Regions from separate parts of the Homo sapiens genome. Here regions 1 and 3 are each linked to region 2. The links are contacts of gene promoters, found by promoter capture Hi-C in blood cells and fetal thymus (Javierre and others, 2016). All regions are on one chromosome and are shown on one strand. The core of a region is centred on a gene start or on the middle of the fragment in contact, and the rest is flanking DNA. Distances in the headings are between cores, read along the strand shown.

Region 1 (2,700 bases), core at 111-2,610, 170 kb after region 2:
ATTAAAAAAAAAAGGAAAAAAATTATGCAAATAAATTACATCTGTAGAAACCTGAGGAGACTATTTGGCTCTACTGCTAAAGAAAGAGCATTTATTTATGAGATTTTTCATCTGTCACTGGCAGTGACCACAAAATTGGTCAGTACGTTAGTTGTATAATTTATTCAGGGCTAATTGCTAGCATTAATAATGACTTCAGAGTTGGAAGCATGGGATACAGATTGTGCTCACATATGTTACACATTTTTATGTATGAGAGTAGGAGTAAGTTATTTAAGAAGTACACACATACACGAAAATGTAGACAAAACTGTTGAATGTGCCCAGATAGTGACATTTAGTAAGGAGAACTTTGATCTGTTTAATCTGTACGTGTACTGTTTGATATGAGTCTCAAAAACTGGTGGACATTATCTTTCAGTTCATTTCCTGTGCAGTACTTCACTAGACTTATCATTTCTTAATTCTGGAAGGTGTATGTTTATAAAGATAAATTAGGAAAAATATAGTAAATATTGATTTAAAGGGATAGAAACACATTTTTTGTTTCCGGATCCCTGTCTGCATCTTATCCCTGTCTCCATCTTTATTCAAATGGGTGACTCGCCAAGTTTTTCACAAAGTTCTAATAAAAAGGAAGTATAGCAGTGCAGCTGAGAGTTTTGCAGACTAGACTATTCTAAAATTGTATATTTTGAATTATTTCCATATGTTCACATCCTTTGGGATATAATTGTAATGATATTTCAGGCTCTATTCTGGCATTAAGTTTTATTCTGGGATAACATAGTCAATAAAAATTTGAACGATATTCAGTACAGAGAAGGATAATACTTAGAAGTAGTGGTTTGGGCTTCAACACAGTAGGAGATGAAAACTTAGAAATCTATGTGAAAATACAGAGGTGTGAAAGGCAATGTGAAACACTTAAAAAAAGTAAAATGTTTTGTTAATAAAAGTAATAGTAACGATGGCCTCCATTTATTGAGAGCCTACCATGTGCCAAGCACTGTGAGCATTTGTTTACATACGTTCACTTAGCCTGCAAAATAGATGGTGATGTTCCATTTTATAGGTGAGGAACCTAAGGCTCAAAAAACTAAAAGCATTTTGTCTGAAGTCACTACACTGTAAAGGCAAGATTGAAACTCAGCTTGTAGTTTAGCTGATAGTATTGTATCTGTCAGTTTCCAAAGGCCATGGTTCTTTTCATCCATCTATACCCAGTATCAGTAAACCTTTACTGTAAGAAACAGAGAGCACGTATTTTAGAGTTTGCAAGCCATACAGTCACTGTTGCAGCTACTCAGCACTGCCATCATAGCGTGAAAACAGCCATAGACTATTTATAAATGAATGGGTGTGGCAGTGTCCCAATAAAACTTTATTTACAGAACCAAGTGGTGGGCCAGGTGTGGACTGTGGGTATTAGTTTGCTGACCTTTGATCTATATTTTTGTAAGTTTAACTAGATGCTGGTTGAAAGTAAAAGCCTTAGGGATAAACCAAAGGCTAAAATTGATAGCAGATGATTCTTGGTGACCTAAGTCAAGAGAATAAAATAACTGAAACCAGGACCCAGACAGAGCAGCCTGTTCCTCTAGTCCCAGCCACTTGGGAGGCTGAGACAGGAGGATCACTTGAGCCTAGGAGTTCAAGTACAGCTTGAGCAGCATAGCAAGACCCAGTCTCTTAAAAAAAAAAAAAAACTGCCAAGAAAAAAAATAATAATAATAACTGAAAACTTGAAACTACAAGTCCTATGGAAAAAGAAAGCCCTTGTATGTGTCAAGCACTGTCATTTATAAATGATGTTTAGCTCTAAACAAACAAAAACCTTGAGCTATATTCTTCAAAACTGTCAAAGCCTTAGAAACAAGGCCAAGAAATTCACAGATCGGAGGACCAGAGGCAGTGTGGTATCCTGGCTTGATCCTGGGATATCAAAATGACACTCATGGGAAAAAAACTGGTGAAATCCAAATAAAACTTGTACTTTATGTAATAGTATTGTACTAATGTGAATTTCTTAGTTTTGATAAACATGCCATGGTCACATAACATGTTAACAGAAGCTAGGTAAAGAGTATACAGGAACTTTCTGTACTGCCTTTGTAACTTCTCTGCAAATCTGAGATTATTCCAAATAAAAAGCTACCTGGGCGTGGTGGCTCACGCCTGTAATCCCAGCCCTTTGGGAGGCTGAGGCAGGCGGATCACAAGGTCCAGAGTTCAAGACCACCCTGGCCAATATGGTGAAACCCCTTCTCTACTAAAAATACAAAAATTAGCTGAGCATGGTGCCGCGTGCCTGTAGTCCCAGCTGCTTGGGAGGCTGAGGCAGGAGAATCACATGAACCTAGGAGGCGGAGGTTGCAGTGAGCCAAGATCACACCATTGCACTCCAGCCTGGGCGGCAGAGTGAGACTCCATCTCAAAAGAAAAAAAAAAAAGAAAAAGCTAAAATGTATTTAAATTCCTAGGCTTGAATTTAGATGCCTAGCATCTATGTTAGAACCAGATGAATACCGAAGTACTAAAAGTAAACACAGTTAGGTTGAGATCTTGTTAAAAAATAATAGCAATACTTACCTGAATCATCCAAAATGGACTTTAAGCCTTGGCAGCATATATTCCCATTAAAACAATATTGTGCTGTCATTTCTGTACTTACAATGTCTCCTACGGAGAAATTCACTT
Region 2 (2,700 bases), core at 77-2,576:
GAGAGGATCAGGAAGGTGGGTGTAGAAGAATCTGTGTTTTTCTTCAAATGTTAATGGAGTGGTTTATTAGCACAGACCTTTTAAGCCAGGCCACGAAAAGGCAGCGGGATGTTTTCAAGTCCCCTTGGGCTGGCGAAGCGGGTACTTGCTGTACCTTATCAAGCACTGAACATTGAATACGTGTTGAAAACAGAGCAGATACGCAACCTTAGCAACCACTCACCTCTGCTATTTTAACAAAATGTTAAGCAAGCGAAAGAAAGAGAAAGAAAGACAGAAAGAAAGAAAGCAGATTAGCATACAAGGCAGGACATGCCACCTTTATATTCTGAGCTCTGTCCACAGTGAGCAGGCCGTGTCAAACATCGGGAGAGACAGAGAATGATTGATCATGCAAAGCAAACTGTAGGTTTGAATCCCAGCACGGCCATCTACGAGTTATAAAATCTTGCCAAACTACCTAATGTCTTGGTACATATACCTAGAAAACGAGAATGATCCCAACCTTTAAGATGAGAAGAGAACTGAATGGGAAAAGCGGGTGAGAACAGCTGACCCCAGCAGCCTCCCAGTAACCTAGTTTTCCCTTCCCATCTCCGTGTCTACGGTGTTTGGTGGCCTCATCAACTCCCGTCGCCTCCAGCAGCTCGTTCACTCAGTGAAGGTCCTAGACCGAATGGCCACCTTCCTGTATGTGGGTACTCATCACCCACCACCTTTCCGCTTTTCGGTGCTTTGCCCTTTTTATCTTATCTAGTAGCCAAAGCTGAGACTGTTGGGAGTCATTTCCAGCTCCGATGGTAGAGGAGTAGGGTTGAGGGGAAACGCCAAGGCGTGCTCCACGCCTGCCGTCCGCAGCCCCGTTGGGCTGTGGTACTCTTCTGACCAAAGTCTGGGTCACCGGGAAGCAAGAGGGAGCGCCACTAAAGGTATCTTTTGTGCCTTGTATTTAGCCACCGCATTGCCAGGATGGGAGTGGAGGCGGACGGTGCCCGACACCACGACTCAGGGAGCGATACCTGAGCTCGCTCGGCAATTCCCGGGCTCCGGGGACGGGCCTGGGCGGGGAAGGAGCCGGGGCGCGCAGCAGCACCCGGCGAGACTGCAGGGCGCCCGAGTGGTCGGACGGGGGAGCGAGAGCTAAAGCTTGCGGAGCGCGCCGAGCCGCGGGCGCTGGCGGCCCCGGCCGGGGAGCTGACGCGAGCCTGCCGGGCCGCGGGAGCTGCGGGAGGCGGAGGCCGAGCTGGGGGCGGAGCGGGCGGCGCCTGGGAGGCGGAGGCGGTGTCTCCCAGAGCTGCGCAGGCGTTGCTCGCACCTTGTTGATTAGTCAGTGCTGGGAGCGCTGCTATGGCGTTTCTCAGACCCGCGGCTCCTCCTCACACGCTCGAGGCGGAGGGAAGGAGGGGTAAGAGGAGGAGGAGGCGAGCGGGCGGCCGCCGCAGCTGCAGACCCAGGGCCAGAGGAGGAGGCGGAGCGGGAGCCGCCGCAGCCACCCGGGCCGCCGCCGCCGCCCGCAGCCGCGCGGCTGCTCTGAGTCTTCTCCGGGCGTGAGGGCACGCGGGGCGCCCCAGCCATGCCCCGCAGCGGCAGCTGAGCCGGGCGCCGGCCCCCTCCCTCCGGGCCGCCCCAGTCGCCGCGCCCCCCCGGCTGCCCGCGGCCGGAGCTGCCCGGCGCCTCCCGCGCGCCCCAGACCGCGAGCGCGAGCAGCGGCGGCCGCCGAGGCGCGGGTGGTGCCGGTGGCGGCGGCGGGGGAGCGCGGGACAGGAGGCTTCGGGGAAGATGGACCCGGCGCCCTCGCTGGGCTGCAGCCTCAAGGATGTGAAGTGGAGCTCGGTGGCCGTGCCGCTCGACCTCCTGGTCAGCACTTACCGGCTGCCCCAGATCGCGCGCCTGGACAACGGTGAGTCCCAGCTGGGGCGCGGGGCAGACGGGCGAGGACAGCCGTCTCCACGCGGGTGTGCGCGCGTGTGCTGGAGAGGGTGGGACCCGCGGGGAGTGGGCTGCCCGCCCCTGAGCGCCGGAGTTGGCCCGAGCGGCTGCCGCAGCCCTGGCGCGTTGCTCTCAACTCCCCCCAGCAGCAGACAAGGAGGTGGAAATCAGAGTCCTTGCAGTATAATTAAAAAGGACGCCCTAAAAAAAAAGTCAACATAGGGAGACCTCTGCAGATCGTAATCTTGGACGCCAGATATCCCTCCCCACCCTCCTGCAAGAATTACTCAACCAGGGAAACCCTGAAGAGTTATCTTAGGCAACTTTCTTGAGAATATCATTGTGCTCCGGGTGGCATCTTAATTTGGGTGCTCTCCTCCCTATCTCCCCCATCCCCCGCCAAACAGATTTAAAGGAAAAGCTCCTGGGTGACCATTGAAAAGGATCACATTTCTCAGAGACCTTGTATTACAGCTTGTCTGTTTTGTTTAACCCAACTGAAAGTAATTTGGGGCTGTGTGTAGAAAATGTTTTCAGCAGAAGTGATGGCATGCTTAAGGTTAACTATTAGGTTTAGCGCATTTCCAGTCTGGAAAAAAAAATAAGTCTCCAAAACGTATTGATTCGGAACCTGAGCTCAGAACTAAGAAGGGTGTATTTCCTGAAACTGACCACCAGAAACCCACCCAACTCCTTCCTCCAACTGTTTATTCTGCGGTGTGACAGCTGCAAACACATAGTTGCGCATACTGTCAAGCAAGTAGACACCTT
Region 3 (2,700 bases), core at 187-2,686, 190 kb after region 2:
AGATTTGTTTTTTTCTTCTTCTGTGTCTATTGAAAATCTTAATGATTAGAATGATAATAAGGATATAATATCCAATTGCCACAGTCCCCAACCTTTTTGGCACCAGGGACCAGTTTCATGAAAGACAATTTTTCCACGGACCTGGCGTTGGGGGAGGGAGTGGTTTCGGGATGACTCAAGTGTATTGCATTTATTGTACACTTTATTTCTATTATTATTACATTGTAATATATAATGAAATAATTATACAACTCACCATAATGTAGAATCAGTGGGAGCCCTGAGCTTGTTTTCCTGCAACTGGATGGTCCTATCTGGGGGTGATGGGAGACAGTGACAGATCATCAGGCATTAGATTCTCATAAGGAATACGCAACCTAGATTCTCATAAGGAACGTGCAAAGATCCCTCACATGTGCAGTTCACAATAGGGTTCATGCTCCTATGAGAATCTAATGCTGCCACTGATCTCACAGGAGCTGGAGCTGGGGCAGTAATCCAAGGGATGGAGAGCAGCTGTAAATACAGATGAAGCTTCACTGGCTCACTTGCCAGCTGCTCGCCTCCTGCTGTGCAGCCTGGTTCCTGTCAGGCTACAGACCAGTATCAGTCCATATCCCAAAAGTTGGGGACCCTGTTCTATTGGATAAGTCTTGTTCCAAACCTGTACAATTAGGTATATACCATTTGTATAAAATCACATTAATAGGAAGGTTATACACTACTTAAGTATATTTATCACGTACACTCCTTGCTCAGGAAAGATCTTTATTCTACTCCTCAATGGCATATACTTTCTGAGTCCATGAAAGCACCCTAAATGTTAAACAAGTACATCTTTTCAGAACCACTTGCCCCTCCTGCCACTGAGTAAGTGGCTGCCCGCTCCTTCCCCTGGGCCTCCCTTGCCTGAGGCTGGAATATTGGAGACCATTTCTGAGAAAGGTCTGTCTTAGGTCCTTATCATCAATGTATAAAAATGGAAAAAAGAAGCTCACGCATCTAAGAATCAGGATTTTGACTGTAAATCACATTTGCCCTTGTGTAATTAATCAAATAGAGGTTCATTTATTGTACTTTGTCATTATAAAACTTTAATTTCTGTTTGACTGAAAATATCCGCTGATGGTTATGTGACAGGGTTATGAACTCTGTATAAAAGCCTCTTTATAAATAAGGTTTCTTAACGGCTGTAATGATTTTGTTATCTGGGAGTGTGGGAAGAAATGTAAAATACAGGGCAGAGGGCAGTCAGTGAAGGCAAAGTTACAAAGTTCAAGGAAGCATGGTTACAAAACTCCTTTCTTTGGGTTGCTGACATTGTCCTGCATTTGGCTTTTTAGGGAAGAAAATGCACAAGAAAGGTGAATCTCATTTTAAATCAAGCTCCCCTACAGTGTATGTATTTTCTTAATCATTGTCAATATGGAAACAAAACGATCCTTACACCACCTAAGTATGCCAAAATCTCCTTATTGATTGTCCACAATTCCAAACAATATGAACTTTGAGACAGGAGGTATACTCTCTCCCCCACGCCCCTGCCAGGCATGTGACAGTTGATTCTAGAAGGTTAACTCAGGAAATACATGGCCCTGTCAGCAGATGTCCCTAGATCCATCATCTTGTATGTAAGAGTTGAGCACCCACCACTGCTCTGAAATTGATTTTTTTCCCAAAAGGCTATCTGAAAACTGCTAAGACCATGCCTTAGTTAACTGTCCTTTTACGTTTCTTAAGCTCTTTGGTCCTGTTAGTGACTGCATGTGAAAGTTCTGTTTCCTCCACAGAACAGAGGAGTCAGAAGTTGTGAAAAACAAAGGCTTTCCAAGAAATGCTGTTGTACCAAAAAGCCCCCAGTCTTAGACATATTGTTTCATAAACCCCTAGGAAGTATCAGAGAAAGAGGTGTAACAGGAGAAAGAAATTATTTCATAGATACTATGTAGAAAGCACTCCAATTGTATGTATGTTTCAGTTTTTGTCCTCCAAAGATCTACATGTAACTCTGCTTTCCACTCATGCAATGATGAGCTTCCTACTGTTAACAAATTCTCGTGCATTATTTTCAACATGTTGCAATTTAGAGGAGACAAATTACTGATCCTTGACCTGTGCTCAATTCCCTCCCAACTAAGCAAGAGTTAGAACTGTAAGGAGAGAAGGGAAAAGAAGGTTAAATGTCTATTCCAGGACTCAGGAAATGACGTTAAGCTCCCTGGGCAGTATTCTGAAAGTAAAGAAAATAGTTCCATTTTATGATGTGTTTGATTTGGACCATAGATTGGAGTTGCACTTGACTTTGTTGACCACTTCCACTTAGAAACATGAAGCTTTCCAAAGCATTTGTTCTATTAGTGTGTTTCATCTTTGCTTTCACTGTTAAGATGATATGCTACCATTAATTTATTTTTCTAGCTTTATGTGGCCAGTGATGGCATGACAGAGGCAGGGAGCAATGGAAAAATGGTCTCCCCTTTATCTTCTTAAATTAAAGGTGAGCACAGGGTCCCAGGCATCAGTGTACAGTTGACCTCCAGCTTACATGCATGCATATACGTACCCAGGCACATTTTTTCAAGTTTCTTTAAAGTTTTTTTTTAAAAGGCATGCCTTCTTCAAACCAGTATCCTTTTGTAACAACTGCCTCACTCCTTTCTTTCCAGACAATTCCTGAGAAGAGTGATCTGCCCTCACGAA

The links. The method cuts DNA at HindIII sites, captures the fragments that hold promoters and counts their contacts. A CHiCAGO score of 5 or more calls a contact.
Region 1: a contact is called between a fragment that was not itself captured here and the fragment with the promoter of GAREM1 in region 2, in 1 of 17 cell types (M0 macrophages). The highest score is 5.7, in M0 macrophages.
Region 3: a fragment that was not itself captured here is called in contact with the fragment with the promoter of GAREM1 in region 2 in 2 of 17 cell types (endothelial precursors and M0 macrophages); the score reaches 8.8 in endothelial precursors.

Annotation. Positions count from the first base shown.
Region 1 is chr18:32,295,717-32,298,416 of GRCh38, reverse strand. The region is part of intron 3 of GAREM1 (GRB2 associated regulator of MAPK1 subtype 1); the gene reads left to right. Among named protein-coding and RNA genes, the nearest start is that of MEP1B, 110 kb to the right of the region's middle. The HindIII fragment of the contact is 3,169 bases long and covers 1-2,700 here.
Region 2 is chr18:32,469,508-32,472,207 of GRCh38, reverse strand. GAREM1 (GRB2 associated regulator of MAPK1 subtype 1) reads left to right here and starts at 1,326. Exons shown (of 6, transcript NM_001242409.2): 1 at 1,326-1,900. The coding sequence starts at 1,780. RefSeq lists a silencer at 1,052-1,571. The HindIII fragment of the contact is 2,356 bases long and covers 1,149-2,700 here.
Region 3 is chr18:32,277,164-32,279,863 of GRCh38, reverse strand. The region is part of intron 4 of GAREM1 (GRB2 associated regulator of MAPK1 subtype 1); the gene reads left to right. Among named protein-coding and RNA genes, the nearest start is that of MEP1B, 88 kb to the right of the region's middle. The HindIII fragment of the contact is 1,799 bases long and covers 537-2,335 here.